Linked DNA regions of Homo sapiens: all the other regions are linked to region 1. Evidence: promoter capture Hi-C in human tissues and cell types (Jung and others, 2019). All regions are on one chromosome and are shown on one strand. Each heading gives the region's core, a stretch centred on a gene start or on the middle of the fragment in contact. The rest is flanking DNA. Distances are from core to core; before and after follow the strand shown. Region 1 holds the start of ZMAT4 (zinc finger matrin-type 4). Region 2 has its middle 80 kb from the start of SIRLNT. Region 3 has its middle 170 kb from the start of SIRLNT. Region 4 overlaps ZMAT4 (zinc finger matrin-type 4).

Region 1 (6,673 bases), core at 1,724-4,223:
AAGCACAAAATTAAATTTTAAAGCAGAAGGCAAAAAGGCTCTTCTCTGATAAAAATTTTAATATGTTTTCAGTCTTATTTCAGGGGACAATTTTCTTTAACAGAAAAATCAGCACAAAATGACAAGATCAAAGTAGGTTGGCAAAAGATTACTTACTGATATGTTTATGATGAAAAGGGATAACAGAAGGATGACAGGGATGGAGGGACAGAGGGGTAAGGAGAGGACTTTTATTTGCCAGGTAACTCACGCAGGGCTTGGAAAAGCAGAAAGACACAACCCCTTCCCACCATAGTGGTTAAAAGAGAGAGAGATCCAGTTTGGCCAATTGGGAAGAGGAGAAAACGCTGGGTCTGTGGATAGTGCTTATCCAGGGTCCTGGCCAAAGCCATCATGTTTGATGAAATGACAAGTAACACATTTAATTTCCTAGGCATTCATCGGTCCTTGCATACACAAACAGGCACGCAGCTTCACAAGGAGTTAATTAGCCTAACACCAGCAATTAGATTCTCCAAACTGGATCGCAGCAGAGGCGCTGGGTCCTGGGTTTCACACCTCACCCCATCCAAGGTGAAGCTGTAATGAGGGTGTTTTGCACTTTGTCAATTATTTTTCAGCTCCTAGGATCCTTTTTTGGTCTAAAGTTGTTATTTTAATGATCTCTGTTCCGAATGGGGAAATACAAGAAAGAGGATTGAGGAGGAGGCAGAGGGAAGGAAAGCGAGCGCTCCAGCGTGTCCCACTTGTACTTTCCAAGGCCCCCTCCGCCCCCTCCCCCCACACTGCCTCTTCCCTCTGTGCATGACTCACCCTTCAGGAGCTGTTTCAAATGCCTTACTTTTAATGTTTCCTATCACGATAGAAATCCAACAGATTGGCATCAATTAAAGGGAACCCCCAGTTTTGCAATCCTCAAACTCAAAAGCATTTTCTGGTTTCCTTACTGCCTTCATGAAAACCAAGGTGCTCTCATGCAAGATCCCCCACGTGCTGGGGGCTGCCCCTCCTGGGCTCCCTGGGGGTCACGTGCCCTGGAGAGGCCACAGAGGACGACGTCCATGACTAACCATGCCCACCGGCTGGGAAAAGTTCAGCTTCCGCTCCAGGCCCCCCAAACACAAAAAGATTATAATTGGCAGGGCTGCAAAATTGTTTTGTTTACTGTCAGATAGGAAGTACAGAAGAGAACGCTGATGGTATTTTGACACCCCCCCCAAAAAAAAAGTGGGCAGGCATTTTTTTAACCATTGTGAATAGAGTTTCAATAATCACAGTTCCCACCCAAAATAGCTGCCTACAGGAGGTGGAGGAGAATCTGTTGTGGTGGTTAAAGAAAATAAGAATTAAAAAGTGGAAGGGATTTGTGGAGCTGGAGAATCAAGACTGTCATCTGCATCTCCGTGGAAGGGTGCCCTGAGGAAGAGGTGTCACTGGAGAATCCCTCCCAGAACATGCAGTCTTGTCAGGACTGGGAATCGAACTCCCCAGCTGCGGGTTTAACGGAAATCAGAGGGATGAAAATCATCTAAACTCTTCAATGCCCCTAGGACTTGGAAGATCACCCCCAGACTATCAGCTTCAGAGTATCCCGCAGGTAGGCAGCGCAACTGGTGAAGTGCGGTGGGCACACAAGCAGAAGCTGCCTTCGCAGAAGAGGAAGAAAGTTCGAGACCAAGCACATCGCCTGCTTCCCCATGGGTCCCTGCTTCCTAGTGACTCACCTACCTAATATCTCCCTTTAGCAGAAGCCAAAGGCGGAGGAGGCAGGGGGAGAAAGGAGTTTCCCAAGGGTCTCAGAGCAAGAGAGGCCCCTGAGGTCTCGCGATTTAGAATGCTCAAGGGTGCTTCTGGGCTGAACCAGCTGCCTGCCGGGGTGAGCTGTTTTACTTCAAGAGCAGTTAGCAGAAGCAGTGTGGATGGTGACTTCAGCACCACCTCTGCCACAAATGCACCTGTGCACCAAAACAACCTGCGCACCTACACGGAGCCACCCCCTCCACCAGCCTCCACCTCCCAGAGCTGCGGGGATGCTCCGGGCCAGGCACCCCTTCTGGGGACAAGGGTGTAAGCTTCACATGGTACCAAACCGAACTCTCTATCCCGTTTTTTGGCTTTTTCTTTTTTTTTTTTTTTCAGGATACCCCAAGCCTGGAAAGTCTTCCAGAGTTTTCGGGAGCTAATTAATTATGTGATTTCCTCTCCTCTGAGAACTGTTTTGCTGGCGTGTCACCAAGTTGTCACGTAGGTGCCCACCAGGTCAAACAGAATAGACCATCCTCACCCACCCACCCCGGGGAATGTCTCCTTCCACCAAATAAAATGAACTGAGACAGGCAGGAAGGAGGCAGAAGTTTGAGGAAGGACTCCAGTTGAAGGTCACAATAGTTTGGGGAAGGCAGATCAAGGTAATACGAAGGGGACAGACCCTATAGCGGAAAACACAAACAACCAATCACGTTTCTCTCGGAACCAGCCTATCCATGATGGGTGCACCAGGAAACAGCACACCCTGGGATCCAACTTCTTTCACCCAGCACACCCGAATCTCCACCCCAGCCCTGCAGACACCCTAGCCTGAGACCAGACCTATTTAGACAGACCTGAGCGCAGCTAATTAGGAGTAGTAAACAAGCCCATTTCTTGCCAGCGCAGAAGTTTCCCAAATTGTCCGCTTGTTTTCCTCCCAACAAAAGACAGTGATTTCCCACCTTTATCACATTCCCTCCCAGAAACTTTTCTTTCTGCAATCCCTCCACCTAGGCTAAACTGCAAAGCCACTGGCAATGGAGACGCAGGCGCTGCACCCCCGGGACGCAGGCAGAGGTACCTTTTCCGCGAGGCAGAGGGGCCGCCGGTGCCCAGAGGCCAGCTGCCCTGCCGAGCAGTAGAGCGAAGCTGTGGGCTGGAGCACGCTGAGGATTACACGTTCCTGTCTCTGCGACCAGACCTTTCGGCAGCTCGGACCAACTGTGCTAGCGATGCACTTAGCAATTATCTGCTGGCTCCGACGCCCCGCCCTCTGCTCTTGCGATTGGCTCTCCAGTCCCGGGCAGGACTGCATTGGTTTCAGCCGACCTCACTCATTGCTTTGGCTCCTACTATTATCTAAGCCATCAAAGGAAATAATTCCATGTTTCATTGACAACCTGTAAGGCTCTCCTCCAGCCCAATGTGGGGGCAGGACCGGGAGGCCAGTGGAGAGAGGGGAGAGGAGTAGGAAAATGTGGGGGAGCGGGGTGGGGGAAGGAGGTGGAGGGGAGAGGAAAAGAAGGAGAAACTGTGGGGGGGTAGGAGGGTAGGAGGGAGAGAGAGAGAGAGATGGAGCTATCAAGCAATCAGATTCTTGCTCTAGCATTTTAACTTCCACAAAACAGAGCCCATAGCAACAATTTTCTGGCTTTATTTTCCCCCTAACTGGTAAATGTTGCTGAGGGCAGAGAGAATAATAACTATGGGGTGTCTGCCGGCATGAGACAGACTCTAGAAAGCCGAGCAAGGTTGAGGGCTGAAGGGATGGAGTAATGCTTTTCACAGGGCCACCCTGGAGGACATGTGAAGGACATGGCAGATTGCTTGGGGAGCATAGTAGGTGCATACCTGGAGTTTATCTATCAGTACTTTATCTCACAGTCCCCCTCATCCCCCAACCTGAGGAGACAATTTTCCTTTGCACCCTGTCCAAAGAGTCTCAGAAGAGCTATTCTTAAAATCCATAAAACTCTGGAGTTTCTCACTGTTCTCACTGGGAGGTCCAGAAAGCCGAGCATTCTAGAGTGAATGATTCTGCTGGGACCCTCACTTTGGTTTATTCTGACATGGCTTAAATTAATCGCTTAGACTTTCATCAACAACCTACGCACGTGAAGAGAGAACATACCCATCAAAGGGTGGGGACAGCTTAAACACTTTTCCTTGTTCACCAAGAAATCATAAAGTCTCACCCTAGTTAAAATGGCTTTTATCCAAAAGACAGGCAATAACAAATGCTGGCAAGGATGTGAAGAAAAGAGAATGAACCCTCCTACATTGCTGGTGAGAATGTGAATTAATGCAGCCACTATGGAGAACAGTATTGGGGTTTGTCAGAAAACTAAATATAGAGCTACCATCTGATCCAGCAATCCCACTGCTAGGTATATACCCCCAAAAAAGAAATCAGTATCTTGAAGAGATTCCTGCACTGCCATGTTTATTGCAGCTCTGTTCACAATAGACAAGATCTGGAAGCAATGTAAGTGTCCATCAACAGATAAATTAGATGAAGAAAATGTGGTACATATGCGTAGTGGAGTACTATTCAGCCATAAAAAGGAATGAGATCCTGTCATTTACAACACCATGGATGGAACTGGAGGACATTCTGTTAAATGAAATAAAACAGGCATGGAAAGACAAACTTCACATGTTTTCATTCATTTGTGAGAGCTAAAAATTAAAACAATTGAACTCATGGACAGAGAGAATAGAATGATGGTTACCAGAGGCTAGGAAGGGGCGGGGGTGGAATGGTTACTAGGTACAAAAATAGAGTTAGATAGAATGAATAGGATCTGGTATTTGACAGCACAACAGGGTTATTACAGTCAGCAAAACATATTGTACATTTTAAAATAACTGAAAGAGTACAATTGGATTGTTTGTAACAAAAGGAAATGCTAAATGCTTGAGGTGCCAGATACCCCATTTACCCTAATGTGATTATTACACATTGCATGCCTGTATCAAAATATCTCGTGTACCCCATAAATATATACACCCACTATGTTCCCATAAAATTAAAAATTTTTAAAAATTAAGAAGAAATCATAAAGCACAAATTTTGACCTTCCCCTCTCCTTAATGTATTTGTCACCATATGGAAAAGACATCACTTGGCAGCTAAATTTTCTTAACTAGGTAAAATATTTATTATTAATGTTTCTAAAATGAAAGAGCTTTTATAAATCAATAAGTACAAGACCTATAACCCAATTCAAAAATGGCAAAGGACAAAATGGGCTGAATTTTTTAAGAGAGAATTATAAAAGCGTCTTTTAAAGAAAGCTTTTAAAATATCAAATTTCAGATGATCCAGAAACTAACCCTTCAGCCTTCTTATCCTAGGATCTCCATGTCTTTGGTGAGGCTCTGGTCCCAGTCCTGCCCTGGCCTCCCCTGGGGCCTTGAATGGCTGTAGTCCTTATCTTCAGCTGCGTCCTCTGCAGCAAATGGCAGGTGCCCCACTGCCTTGTATGGTGACTTTCTATTTCATGCATACATGCCTGGCTTCCCTAAATACATTTCAAGCCCTGTAAAGACAGAGATGGTATCATGCATATTTTTATCACTCCACAGATAGCACCTAGCACTCAATAAGTGGGCTGACTACTAAAACCCAATTCAAAGCATCCAGGGTGCACAGCCCTAAGCCTCATGCGACCCTCATTCCACTGCAACTACTCTTCCAGCAGAGCAGAGTGTGGAGGGGGCCCACTCTGGAGTCCAAGAGCTAAAAATTCAGGACTAACCACTGTGAAATGCCTGTGAAATGCGGCAGCTCCAGAGTCACTCGAAGCTCTCTGTGTTCTCTCTGGAAAATGAGGCAGGTCTTCACCCAGTACCTTCCTCCTCCCTCAAGCATTTGAAGGAAATGAAAGGATGTGGGATGCACATTTTACTTGTGAGGCATGACCTCAAAAAATGAAGTCCTTTCCATAATGGCTTTCCAAATATCAGCATGAGTAGGAGACAGTGACCGTATATTAGGAATTCAAAACTAGGGCAAGGGATGTAGCAAAATATTTGTTTTCTATTTCATTCCTTTGTCTAGGTGAAATCACACAAAGGCACAATAATGAAACTAAACTTAGCTATACATTTGAAATTGACACTGTCCTAGAAAATCTGGTGTGTTCAGTCATGGTGTAAAAACCATAAATAACACTTTTATTATTTAAGCAGTATGATTTTTACTTTCGAGTGAAAGTAGGCTTCAGCTTTGTGCCTTCATACTATCTCTTTTTCCACCCCCCTTAAGAAAATAAGAGAAATAAACTAAATTATAAGAACTCTCTTGAGTATCTATCAAAGGTTTAGTTGTCCCTGAAGGAAAGGGAAAACATTTCAAGTGATTTTCTAAAATGCTTTGTCTAAAACAGCATGTCCTTACATGTACTTTTTGCCTTTTGAAGATGAGAGAGAGAGAAAGAAAGAGAGCAAGCCTCAAACAGTTGTTTATGTCAGTGTCTTTTAAACTGCCTGGTCATAAAATATCCTCTTTGAGAGAAGGATTCTCCCTTTGTGTCCCATAGATCAACTGCTTAATTCTGAGAGTTAGAGAATGAATATTAAATATGCAGATTCCACTGGTACTTGCATTTGTATTAAATATCAGCTCCATACAATTTAAATTCACTGGGGTATGAAATGTACCAAATTCCATGTTGTGGGCCATACTCGGCAAAGCAGTCCATTTTGATTTAACAGTTTCAGGACATTAATGGTGGGAAAGACTTTTGGGGGTTCCTGTTCCATTTTGAGTAATTAGGGAAAGAATGTGGGTTTCTTTATTAAAACACAAATTAGACAGCAGCCGCCGGAACCTCCATCATTCTTGTGGGTAACCACTTGCTACAACAAATGACCATGACCTACCGTGGGAGGCTGGAGAAATCTTGCATTTACTTGTCCG
Region 2 (6,673 bases), core at 2,973-5,472, 470 kb before region 1:
GAACAGTCCTGGTTTCACCTTTAACCTGGTTGAATTATTAATAGTGCCTCCTTTTTACTCTCAAAAGTGACCCAATTTGAGCACTACATATTATTCTCATTGCCTCAAGAGGTCATATATGGAGAAATTCAAAATTATTTCTAAAAGGTTTAGGACATAATTTTGAAAAGAAAAGCCAGAAATCCTTCTTAGGAGAAGCTAGAAGATATCCATCCACCAAGGATTGTGCCCCGGAGGCTGATTAGAGCTCAGAGAGGCAGGTGGGGAGCATGGTGGGTGTTCAAGTCAGCTCTGCAGCAGAGGTCACAATGCTCAGATGCCCGCCCTACACCTGCCATCTGTGTGTCATTGGACTAAGCAATTAATCACTCTGTGCTCTAGTTTCTCATCTATAAGATGAGGACCACATTAATAGTGCCCACCTTATACTACCCTTGCGAGACTTTAATGTGTTAAAATAGTTAAAATACTTTCCAAAGCCTGACATGGAGCGACCTCGATAAATGTCGGCACTTATTATTGGATTGGTAGCAGTATATGACCTTACTTTTGAATGAGGTTGCATATGCTGTGGTTCTGCTGGTCCTCACTGAGCATCCCACATTTTTCTGTCCTGCACAGATCTGGGATCTCATTTCTTTAAAAACATATTAGGGCCCATAGAAAGAGAAATGCTTATGCACTGTTGTAGGAATATAAATGAATACAACTCCTTTGGAAAACAATATGGAGATTTTGTAACAAAACTGCAGATAGAACTAGCATTTCATCCAGCAACCTCACTACTGGTATGTAGCCAAAGGAAAATAAAACATTTGTATCAAAAAGATATCTGCCTGTGTATATTTATCATAGCACTATTCACAATAGCAAATATATGGAATTAACTGAAACATCCATCAGTGGGTGATTGGATAAAGAAAATATGGTACCTATACACACTGGAACACTATTCAGCCATAAGGAAGAGTGAAATTATGTACTTTGCAGCAACATGAATGGAACTGGAGGCAATTATCTCAAGTGAAACAACTCAGAAACAGAAAGACAAATATTACATGATCTCACTTATAAGTGGGTGCTGATTAATGTATACACATGGACATAGAGTGTGGAATGATAGATACTGGAGACTCTAGAGGGTGGGAGATGGGTGAGGGGTGAGAAATGACTTAATAAGTACAATGTACATTACTTCGGTGATGGTTACATTAAAACCCAGACTTCACCATTGTGCGTCATATCTATGTAACAAAACTGCCCGTGTACCCTTAAATTTATACAAACAAAAATACTTTAGGACCTTCATTACTTATTGGTTTAAAGGTTATCTTTCTCTCTTTCTTTCTTTCTTTTTTTTTTTTTTTTTTTTGAGAAAAAATCTTACTTTGTTGCCCAGGCTGGAGTGCAGTGGCACTATCTTGGCTCACTACAACATTTGCCTCCCAGGTTCAAGTGATTCTCGTGCCTTGGCCTCCTGAGTATCTGGGATTACAGGCATGCACCACCATGCCCAGCTGATTTTTGTGTTTTTAGTAGAGACAGGGTTTTACCATGTTGGCCAGGCTGGTCTTGAACTCCTGACCTCAAGCAATCCACCTGCTTCGGCCTCCCGACGTGCTGGGATTACAGGCGTGAGCCACTGCGCCCAGCCTGCTTAAAAGTTTACAATGGAATAAGTAAACCAAGTTCTCTTTAAAAGCAAGATTTCATTAAGGAAAATGCAGCTATAGCACTTGATCATAATATTAAAATTATTTATTGACTTCTCTGTCTCCCCCAGTAGAAGCAGGTCTCTATGAGCATAAGGACCATATTTTACATGGCTTCTTCTCTTGCTATCTGACCTCCTGTGTGCTTCATAATAAGAACAGAATAAGCATTTGTTGGAGAGAAATTGAGATTATTTGACAACAGAAACAAAACTATATGAAACAGCTCTTTGGCTATCATTTAGTAGCTTTTACATTACATGTTTCATGCAATTTCTCACAGTACAGTCAGGTAGATTTTGCCCTCTAATAGCCAACATCCAGTAGTTGGGAGATATAGAATAAACAAAATTAGTAGTCTATATAGGAAACTTCCAGCACCCAGCCTGGAGTGAAGTATGATTAGATTTAAGTGTGAGGAAAGGCAGAAAATGCCAGCAGTACACTTGCTAGATAGGGGGTGGTTATTTTTAAAGATGACATTAATTTTGTAACCCAAGGTTTTATTTCTTCCTTTAGAGGTAGTATATTGAGTGATTAAAACACACGGACTCTGGGAATAGATTTCTGGACTCTTCTGGCACTGGTACTTACTAGCTACACAACCTTGGATGAGTTATCTAGTTATCCAAGTTCCTTAGAACACAGAGCATAAGGCAGAGATTATGTGCTCACCTCACTAGCGAGTGCAATCCCAGTGAAAATGAGTAAAGGAAAGGGGAAGTGAGGCAGAAAAAGGGGAGAACAATTGTAAGAAAGTACAGAACTGGGCTAATCACAGCTGCACGACAAGCTGATTTCTCAATATCTTCAAAGACGTGAAACTACTTCCTAAGTTTAGGAAATAGGAGTTCAACTGCCGATTCATATTTTTCATTGATCAAAGTTTACCATTACTGTGAGTTAATTTCCCTAAACTTCTAGTGTTTCCATGCATGGGAAATGAGTGAGTGCCATTGCGGACCACAGGGAGCCCCAGGCAGGGGCTGAGAGACAGGTGGCTCATGTGGAAGGTGGATACCGTAAGCCTGGTAGGCTGGTTTTTGTTTTTTTTGCTTTTGTTTTTTTTGTTTTTTTTTTTTTTTTTTTTAGACAAGGTCTCACTCTGTCGCCCAGGCTCAAGTGCAGTGGTGCAATCACAGCTCACTGCAGCCTCCCCAGCCTCTGGTGATCCTCCCACCTCAGCTTCCCGAGTAGCTGGGACTGCAAGCGTGCATCATCATGCCCGGCTAACTTTTATTATTTTTGTAGAGGTGGGGCTTCGCCATGCTTCTCAGGCTAGTCTTGAACTCCTGGGTTCAGACGATCCTCTAGCCTCAGCCTCTCAAAGTGCTGGGATTACAGGCATGAGCCACTGTGCCTCGCTGACACTGTCAGGTTGTGTTTATAAGCAACAGCAGGGCTGAGCCATTGACCTATAGGAGCAGAAACAACAGCATCAGGAGCCCTGATCCATGATGCTGAGGATGATGAAGGACATCGCTAGACTGGCTCTGGCCAGACGGGCCCTGGATCTACAGTGATGCATAGACTGAATCCAGTGTATCATCTGACCTCTCTGTGCCTTTGTTTCCTCAACTTCAGTATGGAAAAAATAATCACTCATCTACCTCCCAGGCTATTGTGAGGACTGAACAAGTTAATATATGCAAGGTGCTTAGGAAAATTCTTCACACTCAGGAAACATTGCAGAAATGTTAGCTCTCGGTAGTGTTAGAAAAGTCATGACAGTTATTGTATGTATTCAATTCCAACGTTCCTTGCAGCCCATTTTTATCTTTTTTGTTTCCTCTTAGGAATATATTGAAAGGTGGAGTCGTGAGGGCTACTTTGGTGCTAAATGATGTCTCAAGCATGAAAGTCCCCTCATGCTCTGTGCTTTGTCAGTTGATGTGATGTTCATGGAGGAGACAGAGACAAAGCAAGTCCTTCCAAATAGCCTCTGAACTCATCTCCACCTTGGCTCCAAGGCGTGCTTAGGGAGAAGTCACCAAATCCCCCAAGTTCATATCATGGTAGCTACATCCATCGGCTTGACTGGATATCCTTCCCTGGAATCACTGTTGTTCAGAAAAGTATCTACTGGAAATTCAAAGACAGAGCTTCAGCTGTAGCAAGGGCTTAACACAGAGCTTGCATACTTGGTGGCTTCCTAGAAAAATCCAGCTTGAGGAGGTGTTCTGTTTGGATGTCAGAATGTTAGCAACAATATTTTAATTGAACTTTCAGTAGTGTAGTAATGATTCCCCTAACAACGCTGTAGAATAGGCCACCAAGGAGCTGCTGTTTCTGCTGCAATCAGTAGAAGCCAAGATTTAAATGTGTTGAAACCAACATTTAAAATTATCCTATCTTTCATAAAAATCCTTTTTTAAAAAAATCAGAAGATTGGATAAACCTGAGCCTGAATTTCTACATGGCAATAATTAGCTGGCACCAAACAGTGACTTTCCACTTCAAACGGGACAGGTTTGCAGTTTTCATCACTCTATATTGTCTTACCCAGCCTATTTCTCTCATTTATATTACTTCTTATTGCAGACATTTCAATTTTGAACCCTGAGCCTAAAGCTTTCTAGGCTGAGATGGCCATTTATCATAGAAACATAAGCTCTCAGACTTTAAAGTTACTTTCTTTTTATTTTCTTTCTTTCTCTCTCTTTTTTTTTTTCTTTGAGACAAGGTCTGTCTCTGTTGCCCAAGCTGGAATGCAGTGGGTGCAATCATAGCTCACCGCAGCCCTATACTCCTGAGTTAAAGTGATTCTCCTACTTCAGCCTCCTGAGCAGCTAAGGCTACAGACACACACCACCATACCCAGCAAATTTTTGTAGTATTATTATTATTATTTTGTAGAGACAGTGTCTTGCTGTGTTACCCAGGCTGGTCTCAAACTCCTGGGCTCAAGCCATCATCCTGCCTTGGCCTCCCAAAGTGCTGGGATTACAGGCATGAGCCACCGCACCTGGCCTTAAAGATACTTTAAAGATGATCAGGTTCCAATTACTGTGGCTTCACCTCCACTCCCTAAACTGGTCATTGATTATTTGTTTGGTCTGACTTTTCAAACTGGAATTGGTTTTTGTTTTTATTAATATTGACATACATTAAAAAAAAAACAGGCATAGAGAAAGAAGAAGAAAAATGACAAATTATGACAAATTATATATCAGAGAGCACTAGAAATGTTGGTGCATATGTGTGGTGGGTGTGGCAGATTGACTCCCTAAACTCCATTCAAATTCCCATAGCATCTTATACTTCACTTTAGAAGCTGGACATGTAAAGGGTGCATTTCTCAGGCTCCCTCAAACCTCAACTTTCCCATATGATCCATCAGCCCCCAAGCCAAAGCACAGTGTGAAGTCTGGACGGTGGAAATGAGATGGAGTTTGTGTTTGTGCTGCATCTGCAGTTCCCCCTGACAAGCAGCATAGATGTTTAATCGGTAAGGCTGCAGTACAGGGCCCATGTTGTGTTCAGCCCATGACATGCACAAAGCGCCTGTGTTGCTGGTGCAACCTTAGTTGAAGAAGTGCAGCTTGAGCTAGCGGTGGCTGCACAGCTTGGGGCTGTGACTGATGATTGTGGCAGCTCCTTCATGGCCTGACCTACAGTGTTGTTCAGGGAGTCACTACTGGAAGCTCAGCCTAATGTCTGATCCTTAAGCTTTTCAATGATTTTGCAAACACTTAATTTCCTGTGTCAAATCCCTCTGTGCCGAAAATAGTTGAATGGATTCTGTTATGTTCAACTGAACCCTGACTAAGAGTACATTCTCCCAACTTTCACTATGCATGTTTTTATAAAAGTAGACTGCTTTTTCATGTAACAAATAACGTAAGCCTCACTTTTTAATTAAACTTCCACAAGTGGAGATAATTTTTATTCCACATTCAGTTGTAACAAAGAATACAGAGAGATTGCATGTATCTTTTACCTACCTTTACCCATGGTAACATCTTAGAAAACTAAAGTACAATATCAGAATCAGGATATTGAGGTCATTACAATCTACTGATTTTATTCTGATGTTCCGTGTTTTATTTACATGCGTGTGTGTGTATGTGTGTGTATAGTCCTATGCAATTTTAGCACATATGTAGATTCACGTACCCACCACCACACTCAAGAAACAGTTCCAGCCCCACAAAGATCCCTCAGGCTGCCCTTCTATAACCTTGCCTACCTCCCTCTCAATCCCCTCCCCCATCACTAACCTGCACAACCCCTAATCTATTCTCCAGTTCTGTATCATTGTCATTTCAAGAATGTTGCATAAATATGATTATACAGTATGGAACTGCTGTGGTTTGAATATTTGTGTCCCCCTCCCCAAATTTATATGTTGAAATCAAATTCCCAATGCAACAGTATTAAGAGATGGGGTCTTCAGGAGGTGATGGGGTCATGAAGGCAGAGCCCTCATGAATGGAGTTAGTTTCCTTATAAAAGAGGCCTGAGGGAGCTTATTTGCCTCTTCCACCACCTGAGGATACAGCAAGAAGGTGCCATCTATGAAGCAGAAAACAAGGACCCGCCAGACATGAAATCGACATGAAATCAGCTGGTGCCTTGATATTGGACTTCCCAGTCTCTAAAACTATAAGAAATAAATCTCTGTTATTTATAAATCACCTAGTCTAAGGTATTTTGTTATGGCAGTTTGAATGGACTAACACAATAATCTTTTAAGAGAGACTTTTAAAAACTCAGCATAATTTCCCAGTAACTCATCCAAGTTGTATGTATCAATAATTCATCCCTATTGATTGCTGAGTGGTATTTCATGTTCTGATGTCTACAGTTTGTTTAACCATTCACCCATTGAAGACATGTGGGTTGTTTCCAGTATTGGACTATGATGAGTAAAGCTGCTATGAATATTTATGCACAGGTTTTTGTGTGAACATAGGCTTTTGTTTCTCTGGGACTAATGCCTCAAAGCATAATACTAATTT
Region 3 (6,673 bases), core at 1,073-3,572, 390 kb before region 1:
AAATGAGTTATGGAGGAGTCCCTCTTTTTCTATCTTTTGGAATCGTTTAAGAAGGAATGGTACCACCTCCTCTTTTTACCTCTGGTAGAATTCAGCTGTGAATCCTTCTGGTCCTGGGCTTTTCTTGGTTGGTAGACTATTAATTACTGCGTCAATTTCAGAACTTGTTTTTGGTCTATTCAGGGATTAGACTTCTTCCTGATTTAGTCTTGGGAGGGTGTATGTTTCCAGGAATTTATTCATTTCTTCTAGATTTTCTAGTTTATTTGCATAGAGGTGTTTATAATATTCTCTGATGGTAGTTTGTATTTCTGTGGGATCAGTGGTGATCTCACCTTTATCATTTTTTATTGTGTCTATTTGATTCTTCTCTCTTTTCTTCTTTGTTTGTCTGGCTAGTGGTCTATCTATTTTATTAACAGTTTCAAAAAACCAGCTCCTGGAGTCATTGATTTTTTGAAGTGGTTTTTCATGTCTCTATCTCCTTCAGTTCTGCTTGATCCTAGTTATTTCTTATCTTCTGCTAGCTTTTGAATTTGTTTGCTCTTGCTTCTCTAGTTCTTTTAATTGTGATGTTAGGGTGTTGATTTTAGATCTTTCCCACTTTCTCTTGTGGGCATTTAGTGCTATAAATTTCCCTCTAAACACTGCTTTAGCTGTGTCCCAGAGATTCTGGTTGTGTCTTTGTTCTCATTGGCTTCAAAGAACTTATTTATTTCTGCCTTAATTTCATTTTTTTACCCAGTAGTCATTCAGGAGCAGGTTGTTCAGTTTCCATGTAGTTGTGTGGTTTTGAGTGAGTTTCTTAATCCTGAGTTCTAATTTGATTGCACTGTGGTCTGAGAGACAGTTTGTTATGATTTCCATTCTTTTGCATTTGATGAAGAGTGTTTTACTTTCAATTATGTGGTCGATCTTAGAATAAGTGCTATGTGGTGCTGAGAAGAATGTATATTCTGTTGATTTGGAGTGGAGAGTTCTGTAGATGTCTATTAGGTCTGCTTGGTCCAGAGCTGAGTTCAATTACTGGATATCCTTGTTAATTTTCTGTCTCATTGATCTGTCCAATATTGACAGTGGGATATTAAAGTCTCCCACTATTATTGTGTGGGAGTCTAAATCTCTTTGTAGGTCTATAAGAACTTGCTTTATGTATCTGGGTGCTCCTGTGTTGGGTGCATATATATTTGGGATAGTTAGCTCTTCTTGTTGCATTGATCCCTTTACCATTATGTAATGCCCTTCTTTGTCTTGTTAGATCTTTGTTGGTTTAACGTCTGTTTTAACAGAGACTAGGATTACAACCCCTGCTTTTTTATTTTTGCTTTCCATTTGCTTGGTAAATCTTCCTCCATCCCTTTATTTAGAGCCTATGTGTGTCTTTGCATGTGAGATGACTTTCCTGAATATGTGTGTCTTTGCATGTGAGATGAATTTCCTGAATACAGCACACTGATGGGTCTTGACTCTTTATCCAATTTGCCAGTCTGTGCCTTTTAATTGGGGGCATTTAGCCCATTTACATTTAAGGTTAATACTGTTATGTGTGAATTTGATCCTGTCATTATGATGCTAGCTGGTTATTTTGCCCATTAGTTGATGCAGTTTCTTCATAGTGTCAATGGTCTTTACATTTTGCTTTGTTTTTGCAGTGGCTGGTACCATTTTTTCCTTTCCATATTTAGTGCTTCCTTCAGGAGCTCTTGTAAGGCAGGCCTGGTGGTGACAAAATCCCTTAGCATTTGCTTGTCTTTGAAGGATTTTATTTCTCCTTCCCTTATGAAGCTTAGTTTGGCTGGAAATGAAATTCTGGCTTGAAAATTCTTTTCTTTAAGAATGTTGAATATTGGTCCCCACTTTCTTCTGGCTTGTAGGCTTTCTTCTTTTATTTATTTATTTTTTTGAGGTGGAGTCCCGCTCTGTCGTCCAGGCTGGAGTGCAGTGGCGTGATCTCGGCTCACTGCAAACTCTGCCTCCCAGGTTCACGCCATTCTCCTTCCTCAGCCTTCCTAGTAGCTGGGACTACAGGCGCCCGCCACCACACCCAGCTAATTTTTTACATTTTTAGTAGAGACAGGATTTCACCACATTAGCCAGGATGGTCTCGATCTCCTGACCTGGTGATCTGCCTGCCTCCGCCTCCCAAAGTGCTGAGATTACAGGTGTGAGCCACCACACCCAGCCCTGGCTTGTAGGTTTTCTGCAGAGAGATCCGCTGTTAGTCTGATGAGCTTCCCTTTGTGGGTAACCCAACCTTTCTCTCTGGCTGCCCTTAACATGTTTTTCCTTCATTTCAACCTTGGTGAATCTGATGATTATGTGTCTTGGGGTTGCTCTTCTCTAGGAGTATCTTTGTGGTGTTCTCTGTATTTCCTGAATTTGAATATTGGCCTGTCTTGCTAGGTTGGGGAAGTTCTCCTGGATAATATCTTGAAATGTGTTTTCCAACTTGATTCCTTTATCCCCGTCACTTTCAGGTACACCAATCAAATGTAGGTATGGTCTTTTCACACAGTCCCATATTTCTTGGAGGCTTTGTTTGTTCCTTTAGATTCTTTTTTCTCTAATCTTGTCTTCATGTTTTATTTCATTGAGTTGATCTGCAATCTCTGATATCCTTTCATCCACTTGATTGATTTGGCTGTTGTTACTTGCATATGTTTCATGAAGGTCTCGTTCTGTGTTTTTCAGCTCCATCAGTTCACTTATGTTCTTCACTAAACTGTTTATTCTAGTTAGCAATTCCTCTAACCTTTTATCAAGGTCCTTAGCTTTCTTGCATTGTCTTAGAACATGCTCCTTTAGCTTGAAGGAATTTGTTATTACCTACCTTATGAAGCCTATTTCTGTCCATTTGTTCAACTCATTCTTCATCCAGTTTTGTTCTCTTGCTGGCAAGGAGTTGTGATCTTTTGGAGGAGAAGAGGTATTCTGGTTTTTGGCATGAATTTTCAGCCTTTTTGCTCTGGTTTTTCCTCATCTTCGTGGATTTATCTTCCTTTGGTCTCTGCCGTTGGTGACCTTCGGATGGAGTTTTTGCATGGTCGTCCTTTTTGTTGATGTTGATGCTATTGCTTTCTGTTTGTTAGTTTTCCTTCTAACAGTCAGGCTCCTCTGCTGCAGGTCTGCTGGAGTTTGCTGGGGTTCCACTCCTGACCCTGTTTGCCTAGGTATCACCAGCGGAGGCAGCAGAACAGAAAAGATTGCTGCCTGCTCCTTCCTCTGGAAGCTTTGTCCCAGAGGGGCACCCACCAAATGTCAGCTGGAGTTCTCCTCTATGACGTGTCTGTTGACCCCTGCTGGGAGGTGTCTTCCCGTCAGGAGGCACAGGGGTCAGGGACCCACTTAAGGAGGCAGTCTGTCGCTTAGCAGAGCTCCAGTGCTGTGCTGGGAGATCTGCTGCTCTCTTCAGAGCCAGCAAGCAGGAACATTTAAGTCTGCTGAAGCTGCAGCTACAGCCGCCCCTTTCCCCAGGTGCTCTGTCCCAGGGAGATGGGAGTTTTATCTATAAGCCCCTGACTGGGGCTGCTGTCTTTCTTTCAGAGATGCCCTACCCAGAGAGGAGGACTCTAGAGAAGCAGTCTGGCTACAGAGGCTTTGTGGAGCTGTGGTGGGCTCTGCCTAGTCTGAACTTCCTAGTGGCTTTGTTTACACTGTGAGGGGAAAACTGCCTACTTAAGCCTCAGTGATGGCAGACTCTCCTCCCCCAACCAAGCTGGAGCCTCCCAGGTTGATTTCAGACTGCTGTGCTAGCAGTGAGAATTTCAAGTCAGTGGATCTTAGCTTGCTGGGCTCTGTGGGGATGGGATCTGCTGAGCTAGACCACTTGGCTCGCTGGCTTCAGCCTCCTTTCCAGGGGAGTGAACAGTTCTGTCTCACTGGTGTTCCAGGTGCCACTGGGGTATGAAAAAAACCTCCTGCAGCTAGCTCAGTGTCTGCCCAAATGGCTGCCCAGTTTTGAAACCCAGGGCCCTGGTGGCGTAGGCACCAGAGGGAAGCTCCTTGTCTGCAGGCTGTGAAGACTGTGGGAAAAGTGTAGTGTCTGGGCCAGTGTGCTCCATTCTTCATGGCACAATCCTTCACAGCTTCCCTTGGCTAGGGGATGGAGTTCCCTGACCCTTTGTGCTTCCTGGGCGAGGCAACGCCCCACCCTGCTTCAGCTTGTTCTCCATGGGCTGCACCCACTGTCTAACCAGTCCCAATGAGATAAGCCAGGTACCTCAGTTGGAAATGCAGAAATCACCCACCTTCTGCATTGATCTCACTGGGAGCTGCAGACTGGAGCTGTTCCTATTTGGCCATCTTGTCCAGGAATGGTTCCACAACTGTATTTTGAAAGAGGAATTATTATTCTTAAATTATAGATGAGGAAATAAGACATCTGGTCTTAGATCTTAGATGACTGCACAGAGGTGAAGCTTTGGAAATGCAAATGGCAGATAAGAAAAAGCATGGGCTGAGCTGGTGTCATTCTTTAAATTCTGTCAAAAAGAAAAGAATTGGCAGGAATAAAGTTAAGAGCTGGCCTTCGTTCAGATGGCTGTTAGGGAGAATTCCCTCCCTTCCTCCAAATTCCATGGTGGAATGGTAACAGAGATTCTCAGGATGCCCAGGAGACCCAGGATATGGTGTGGTGGAGGGCGGGGTTAGGCAGCTAGAGCTCAGCATATGCCCACAGGAAGAGTGTTTATGTGGGGAAGGAGGAATGGCTGGGAGTTGATGGAGGGGAATTGCTGTTCTAACCTCCTACCTTCTCACTGGTTCCAGGACAGGGCCCAGCTCTGTTCATGAGAACAATTCCAGGGATACTCAAGTAGCCAAGCACTGGCAGCATTCTGGGTACCTCCTAGTACCAGTTGGTGGGCTCCTGGCCCCAGCCAGGGCAGTGTGAGACAGCTTTGCACACTCTTTGAACAGCTAACAAATAGCTCAGGGCCAATTTTTTGCTGGGTACAACTCAGCTACTAAAACTTTCCTGCTTCCTGACTTTTAAATAGTAATTTGCAGAGGGATAAGTAGGGATACACACAAGAAAAAAGAGCGTCTGATGAGGTTGCCACCAAAATATGCAGTCTTTTGCTCATACAATGTAGCCCAGGCATGATCTTTGTTGGTTCTGTTAGTTGAATTGTTACATTTGAACTTAGTATTGAAGTGTTTCACAAATATCATAAAACTCAGCAGGCCCAATAAATACCAGAGGAGAAGGTGTGGAATACACCAACACAAAGGGATGTTTTATTAGGATTAAAAAAAGTTAACTCAGAAAAAATAATTAAAAGTGGATATTTTTGGCATGACAGATACTTCGTGTGCTTATGGAAATGAACCATTGGACTGTTGCAATGATTCTGGAGGTCAGAGAAAATTGTGCAACATGCAAAGCATGCAGTATGGCAGCAATGACCAGGAAAATTTATGAATAAGAAAAGGACCAAATGGAGCTCAGGAGATGGGTGGGAGTTTTTGCAGGACTCAGCGAAATGGAATGGCTACATTCCGTGAGCCCATGGTAGTACGTTGGTTGAAAGACAATGTGAATGGAATAGCTCACCTGTTACATTTCTAGGATCTTCAGTATTTTTACAGTGTGTACAAACTGCTGTACTTCATAAAAAGAAAGTCTGATATAATGTGCAGGTAAGCAAGAAGAAGTATCTACTGATATATTTGTGAAAGGGTACTCTCACCTTCTTTTGGAAATATAAACTGAGGTTGCCGGTTAAACCATCATTGGTTAAGGATAACAAACATTTTGGAGACTAGTATATTCTTTGGGGGTTTTTTTGTGGGGGAGGGGTGGGGAGGGCTTGGGTCATGAGTTCTCAAACCTTAGGGACACATAAAGCATTCTCGGGGCCTGACTCAGGTAGAGGGATGCTGAGCTGTGATATGAGCCCTTTGTCACCTAGACCCCAACTCGAGTTTGAGAAGAACCAAGTATCATATTTACAAAGTGAACTTACAACCCAGAGTCTGGCCCTAATCCTGCACTTGCAGCTGGGACTTCAGGCAAGTTATCTACCTTTCTTTGACTCCTTTTAGTCAGCTATAAAATGGTACACTCCAAGGACATCGGAATCTGAAGAGAGCAGTGATGTTGCAAGGGTCTGTCCTTAGAGAAGGACGTTTGGGGAGCTGGTTCCACTCTGGGCGCCCCTGTTCTAGGTGGGGCTTGCTTTTTCTATTTGGCTCAGCCTCTTGGCACTGCCAATAAAGTTATGACTTTGTTCTTTTTATTTTTTTTGTACATGCCTGTGAATAAGACTTTCGTTCTCTCTGATTCATTTTTAAGAGACTCTGACCAAATTCAATAGGCATGTCTTAGTTATGATTTTGTTAATTACTTCTTACCATCTATCACTTGCATTACACATCTGATGGCCTTCATATTTCCAAGACAGCAATTACTTCAACAAATGGGTGGAAATAACCAGTTTTCTCCTTCTGCCTCTCATAGAAGTCATTTTCACTCACTTTTAGAGGAGGATTAATGAGGTCTAACTAATTTTCTTTTGCCAAAGTTACTATGATTAGCAGACTTTCCTCATTGAAGGAGTCCATGGATGATCTATAGCTTTCTACAAATGTATGAAGAACAAACTCATTGTTCCAGCCCATAGAGTGATTTGATTTCATTTATTTCTCAAGATCTGAGGTGGATTTTTTCTGA
Region 4 (6,673 bases), core at 2,149-4,648, 330 kb before region 1:
TGCCACAGTACCAGCAGAAATATATTTTTTCATTTTATTCATCAATGCTTTTTCTTGGAAAACAAATAATCATATCTTTCCCCTCAAAGTAATCTCAGAATGCAGATGAAGCTATGAATTCTCCAGGTGATATTTCAATGCTTTAGCCTCCTGGGTACAAGTCATCCTAGATATATATTAAACATTTACTGTGAAAGTTTTGAGATTCAAAATGGAGTCACTTGTGTCTTGTGTCACTTGTCAAACTCCGGCAAAATAAAGACAGAGAAGATCATGGTGGGAGGGCTGTCCTAATAGATTTGCCTGATAATATGAATGATCACAAGGACAGCCAGCCACTTATGCAAAAACACTTGCCTGACACACTATTTCACAAACTCAATCCAAAGAAACAGCTGCTATGACTTCGAGACTACAAGTTTTACCTAGAAATGCCCCCACTGTCACTCATCAGAGCTTGCCAGATCCTGAAAGACATCGCCAGCCAATGAACTTTCAAAATAACCTGTATAATCTACTCTTTCCCCAATTAAACCCTAACCTTTTCCTCTGTTCTCTGGACATGCAGGAGGCCACCCTGGTCTTTATGTATGTCTCGCATTGCAATCCTATTTCTTGTATATTAGTCCCCAAAAAACCCTTTTACTTAGTAGAGATTTACCTCTCCATATTTTCTATGTTGGCACTACACATATGATTCTAGAATATTTTCATTAAAATCATACAGTTCTGTTTAAAGAAAAGATCGTCTTTGATTTATAAGCTTTTCTGTGTACTGTGCAAAGAGACTTCTGTGCAAAGAGATTCAGTGTCATTTGTTAATAAAATAAGCTCATTTTTCTGACAAAAATGGAAACATCTTAAGTTACTATATCTTTAATTTTTTTTTTCAAAGAAGGACAAGAAAACTCAGCACTTTTAATGCTGTGGTCTTTCATTTGACATTTAACTATCCTGCTGTGTAGTGTTACTTGGCAGCTTTAGAGGGTACTCTGGTGGTTTTACAGTGTACTAACATGGCCAGCCTGCACAGCGTTTCTTATAATTCCCTTAGCTATATGTTTCTGGTTTTCACTCTCAGAAGGTCAGGGCTCACAGCTTCCACATGTAAGCACCAGGTTCTCCTGCAGAACTACCACTTTATTGAGGTTGAAGGTGGAGAGAACTAACTCGGGTTTCAGTCTGTCCTTAGAGGTCCCAGCTGGTGCTCAGGGTCTGAGTAGCACTTTCTCTTCCCCACCCAAAATCTCTCCTCCAACAGTCTGTCTTCCAGGCTCCAAGCACCAGCATTAGAGAGGGTGCTGAACCAGCTCTCACAAAGGCTCAGTGCAAGCTTGTTCAACCCCCAGCCCACAGGCTGCATGCGGCTCAGGATGGCTTTGAATGTGGCCCAATACAAATTCGTAAACTTTCTCAAAACATTATGAGAGTTTTTTGCAATTTTTTTAGCTCATCAGCTATCATTAGTGTTCGTGTATTTTATGTATGGCCCAAGACAATTTTTCTTCTTCCAATATGGCCCAGGGAAGCTAAAAGATTGGACACCCTTGGTAAGGTCTAATCCCTGTTATAAATCCATGTGTGAGTGTATGTCTGTGTGTAAGAGAGAAAAAGAGAGGGAGAGACAGACACACACCTCCTAGTGGTCTTGCTTCTCTGACTGAAGTCAGTCAGGTGCAATGCCTAGGGCACGGTTCTTTCTCTCTGCACCTTTCTCTACTTTGGACGATACGTCTTCTCCCTGGCTTTAACTTGTACCCATTTAGCTGACTTCAAAATGTCCATTCAAAGTCTGGTTCAAGTCTTCATATCAGGTCTGCTTTCCAAGAACCTGTAGGACATTCCTGCTCAGGCAAAACACCATTCCATCAAAAGCACTGTGTCTAAAACTTAACTCCCTCACTCCCGGCCAGATTCTGTCAGAATTTCTCCCATCTCCTAAGCTGAAGACAGGTAGGCACCTTAGGCCATCCTCTCAGAAATCCCATCATCAATGATTATCAGTGGTTCCTCAGAGTTCTAGGGATCAGCAGGGGCCAGGGAGGAAGTTCACTGGGTAGCACTTTTGACCCAACATGTCTAATTCCAAAAAAGACTACTTTTATGAAATTCCACCTGCTACTTATTTTAAAAGAGGGTTCTGCTGTTATAATTTGAGTTCTTATGCAAACCCCTTCCCCTATGCATAGCAAACAGCTACACATCACCCTCCATCCTCCTGGGTGCTGTCATCAATGGGGCTGCTGGGGCACTCTCCCTCATACAGGGGCACACTGGTAAGGAACTCCCCCTCTTTCTTTCTACCCCAGCCATTGTGGTAATCATGGTCTAGAAACTTCTACAAAACTCCCCAGGCAAACAATGACAACCCCTCCTGATTGACAAGCCATCTGTCAATCCTCTTTCTACTTGACTCTTTCTGGCATTTAATCAGTTTGTTCTACACCTTCCTTCTTGAAATGTTTTTTTCTCCCTTGACTTCTGAAGCACTAATCTGTCCTGTTCTCCTACTTAGAAAAGAAATACAAAATATATCATTATGAGAAAAAGTGTTGACTTCTCTTCCTTTGTCACGACGTGTGTGTGCACACATGTGTGCAGTGTAAACATATGTGTGTTTATTCCTCAAGTTCCTCTTACTGTACACACTCACCTTGAGTGAACTCATCTACTCCCATATCAGACACTTCAACCAGCTCCTGTGACCCTAAGCATCCTGAATCTGAATCTTCAGCCCTCATTTGTTTCTTGAACTCCAGAGCCATAAACCTCAATGCCCACCGGCATCTTCATCTGAATGTTCTTAGGCCCCTCAAACTCATTCCACCTCAAACTGAAATCATTCTCATTCCCCAGCCCAGGTTCATCTCATCCAGGCAGCTTTCTCTCATTACTCATGTCTGCATCATCTCTCCCTTCTCTCAAGTCCTTAAATGGTATATAAAGTCAGTCTCAAATATATTAGCATTTAAATGTTCTTTGATTATTTTCGTCTATTAATTTGGTCTCCTCAGTTAAACAATAGGTTTATTGCAGGCAGGAACCACACTGTTTGCTGGTGCTATATCCTTGCGGTATCTGACACTTAGCTAGACACAGAGTAAATACACAGAGCAGAACTGAATCTCTCTCAAGTATTAGGTCTCTAGCAAAAGTGGAACATGCTAGGAAACCATAAATATATCTGCTGTCTAAATCCAAAGGTAACAGATGCAATTCATCTTCTTTGAGCACTACTAGTAGAAGAAACAATTTTGAAATGAAAAAACAGATAAGAACATGAAATGTTCTGAACTAGACTTTAAAATTTGAATTACAATGATATCTTATGAAATTATTCCACATGCATGATTCTGCTTGACTTGATAAGGTATCTCTCTCCACCTCCAACTCTCTTTTTAGACCCATGAATTTTGTGACAGAGGGTAAAGGATATGATTTATTTGACCACAGTGGCTCTGTCCTTAAAGGCAGCTGTTCCTTGACTCTGAAAACTAGTCCAGAAACTGGGGTGATGCTGGTAGGCTGTGAGGGAGCAGGAGGGCCTCTTAGTTTCCTCCAGCCCCTACCCTTGCTCCCCATGGCAGGTCTCCTACAGGGGAAACCAATGAGTTTCCACCCAGTGGCTGAGGAAAGGGATGTCCTTTCACTTTCTCATCCCAGGCTCCCTCGGATTGTCAGAGACCACACATCTAATCTCCACCAGCCTTTTCTGAATAAATATGATCATGAAATTACTTATTTTTGGTCTGTCCTCCAAAAAGAGAAAATACGTGAATGAGGTCAAGTAGTTCCAGAATACTTGAAATATTTGCTTTATGAACACTAAGCTGGAGAACGCAAAGAAATCCTCATGGACAAACTTACCATGGTAAGGGAGTCCAGGAATGTGTTCATGTAGGAGACAATATTTAACTCACTGAGTTTTGTATTGATCACTTCTCTTTTTATAAGTCGAGAGTATATTGAAGCAGGTGTTATTTCTACAGGATTGCCCAACCCTGGACCCTAAAAGGCCAAGATTTTCATTGCTGATGCCAGCTTCCTCTTTCTGCCTTCTCTCCCCCTGTCAATGACACTCTATATTTCAGTCTCGGGCCACCCCCCTCTAAACTCACAGATAAGATTTTAGTATTTGTCATTTGCACATCTCACTGTGCAATTATCCCTGCCTGCAAAGTAGACAAAAGTAAAGTTTTCCTCTGTGGAAAAAATGTTGACAGTTACCTAGCAGGTGTGTATAGGGGAGAACATATCACTTTGAGAAAAGGAAGCAATTTATTGAAATCACATCATAAGGCAGGGCCACTGTTGCAGCCTGTTCCACTGTCTCATGGGAATGGAGAAATTACTCACATTAGTAGAGTACATTTTGGAATGATATTCATGATATTCATTGATTTTAGTCATTCAAATTATGTGTTGGCTTCAACCCTAATTAAACAGTTGAGAAAAGAAAGACCATTAATTGTTGAGCATCCATTGTGGGCACAGGATGAGATATTTTAATCAGAAGACACAGGAATAATCTTACTTCAAGGTTAAAAGAAAAATTACCTGCACGGATAGTAAAAAATCTGCTTTAGAACATTAAAGCAGTTCTTGTTAACAAAATCTGACATCCAGTCTTACTCTTTTATCTGTACACTGTCTTATTGGAGCTGCTCATTTGCTACCAATTCCTTAAATGACACTAGAGCAAGTGTTATTAGGGAGAAAGAATAATCAAAGTAATTTTCAACAGAGATTGGACAGATTGATGTCTCTAATCATCATTCTTTGATCACAAATGTCATTTGCTCTTAACATAAGTTTTAAACCCTGGTTTCTTCCCTTACTTAATAGCAATGAAATATTCTATCAGGTGTTACAAAATTCAAATCCTCATATATAAGTGATGAGGGCTTTTCAGAGAATGCCCAGAAAATATGAGTTTCTAAGTGACAAAAGTAATTTCCTTGGGTAAGTCCTTAGAAGTCAAAGCTTCTATATCAACTCATTCAACACAACAGCAAGTGCTGGTTTGGTGCCACCATCTTTTTTTTTTTTTTTTTTTTTTTGAGATGAAGTTTTGTTCTTGTTGCCCTGGCTGGAGTGCAGTGGGGCGATCACTGCAACCCCCGCCTCCCAGATTCAAGCAATTCTCCTGCCTAAGGCTCATGAGTAACTGGGGTTACAGACATCCGCCACCACGCCCAGCTAATTTTTTGTATTTTTAGTACAGATGGGATTTCACCATGTTGGCCAGGCTGGTCTCGAACTCCTGTCTTCAGGTGATCTACACTCCTCGGCCTACCAAAGTGCTGGGATTACATGTGTGAACCACCACGCCTGGTCATTGCCACCATCTTTTTCATATCTGACATCCCTCCTAGATCCTAAGCCTGCCTTCTTTCCCAACTCAGGTTCCAGGCTACCTTTTTTTTTTTTTTTAATAAGAGCTCCTCAGAGAACCTACATTGCCAGTGATAACTTGGGCTTGGAAGAACTGCAGGTCCATGTTGGTGCCCAGTCACCCAACACCACACTCCTGACAGCTGCTAATAGGACTCCAGGACCTTCACCACTGTGAAGGCCCCCAGCACTCTCTCCTGTGATTTCAATGAGTTCAAGAATTTGGGTGACTTTTCTGGAATCATAGCGCTTTAGGGTTTAGGCGTTTTAAAAATTACCTGAGCATTTTAAGGACAAGAAATCAATTTATTTACTTGTCATTTACTATGTGATTCAGAGCCTAGCACAGAGTGGGTGGGTCACTTAATAAATATTTGCTAAACTATTGACCAAATCAAGGAAAGTTCTGATGTTCCTCCGCCGTGACACACTATCTCACTGAAAACCTCCAGATCGTGAGTGAACCAGATTTCATCCACAGAAATAAACTCTCTAGATTCACTCCAGAAATATCACTTGCATGCTCCAAAAGGTTGACTAGTTATTTTATACTGGGTTTCTTTAGAGTAACTTGGAAATGAAAGCTGCCTCTCCAATGTGCACATAGAATGAAGAGCATTGCCCAGATCTTTTTTTAACTTGTGCTGATGTTTTCCGGACATGTGGGTGTGAGAGAACCTGACCTCCTTCCTATTACCTTTAGAAGGGGTGCAGCAGAGGGTGGTCATTCAATTTCCAGGCTGGGATGACTTTCTCAAATTACACTGTGACCTGATCTCTCCTTTCCATGGGAGGTGCATTTTTACTTTCAGGACTCTCACGGGATGTGGAATACAGAAATGATGACATCTGGTTCCAAGACTAAGAAATAGAAACCTGTATGACTTCCAAACCTTCTGGTATGGAGGATACTGAAAAATCTGAAGCTCCCCCCTACTCAGTTGCCTTGAATAGGAATTATACTGACCAAAAGCTAGATTTAAAATGAGAAACTTTAACATACCCAGTTAGACCCACCTACACAGAGACTTAAAGTGTCCATTCCAATACAGATACTAAGGGACAACTAGGTGCTAATTTAGTAAGCTATCTGGCCATGACATCTGAGTTATCTAGTAAGCTTATGTGATTTAGCAGTGGAAAGTTGTCAGAAAACAGAATGTATTATTTGAACTTTATCCATGTCCCAGGAAATAAAACCAGAGGTCTGAAACTCATCTATTTAAGGCATTTATAAGATCTTTTTGTTAGAATATAAATCAGTTCAGTGGTGATGGTT

The links. Contacts are between HindIII fragments. The study calls those that stand out against the background at their distance.
Region 2: a fragment that was not itself captured here is called in contact with the fragment with the promoter of ZMAT4 in region 1 in 2 of the 25 tissues and cell types used here (dorsolateral prefrontal cortex and heart left ventricle).
Region 3: a fragment that was not itself captured here is called in contact with the fragment with the promoter of ZMAT4 in region 1 in 2 of the 25 tissues and cell types used here (mesendoderm cells and thymus).
Region 4: a fragment that was not itself captured here is called in contact with the fragment with the promoter of ZMAT4 in region 1 in 2 of the 25 tissues and cell types used here (dorsolateral prefrontal cortex and mesenchymal stem cells).

The regions. Positions count from the first base shown.
Region 1 is chr8:40,894,853-40,901,525 of GRCh38, forward strand. It overlaps ZMAT4 (zinc finger matrin-type 4), which reads right to left and starts at 2,974. Exons shown (of 7, transcript NM_024645.3): 1 at 2,831-2,974. The HindIII fragment of the contact is 9,161 bases long and covers 1-6,673 here.
Region 2 is chr8:40,420,137-40,426,809 of GRCh38, forward strand. No RefSeq gene overlaps it. Among named protein-coding and RNA genes, the nearest start is that of SIRLNT, 80 kb to the left of the region's middle. The HindIII fragment of the contact is 4,372 bases long and covers 2,037-6,408 here.
Region 3 is chr8:40,508,582-40,515,254 of GRCh38, forward strand. No RefSeq gene overlaps it. Among named protein-coding and RNA genes, the nearest start is that of SIRLNT, 170 kb to the left of the region's middle. The HindIII fragment of the contact is 3,002 bases long and covers 822-3,823 here.
Region 4 is chr8:40,560,341-40,567,013 of GRCh38, forward strand. The region is part of intron 6 of ZMAT4 (zinc finger matrin-type 4); the gene reads right to left. Among named protein-coding and RNA genes, the nearest start is that of SIRLNT, 220 kb to the left of the region's middle. The HindIII fragment of the contact is 4,700 bases long and covers 1,049-5,748 here.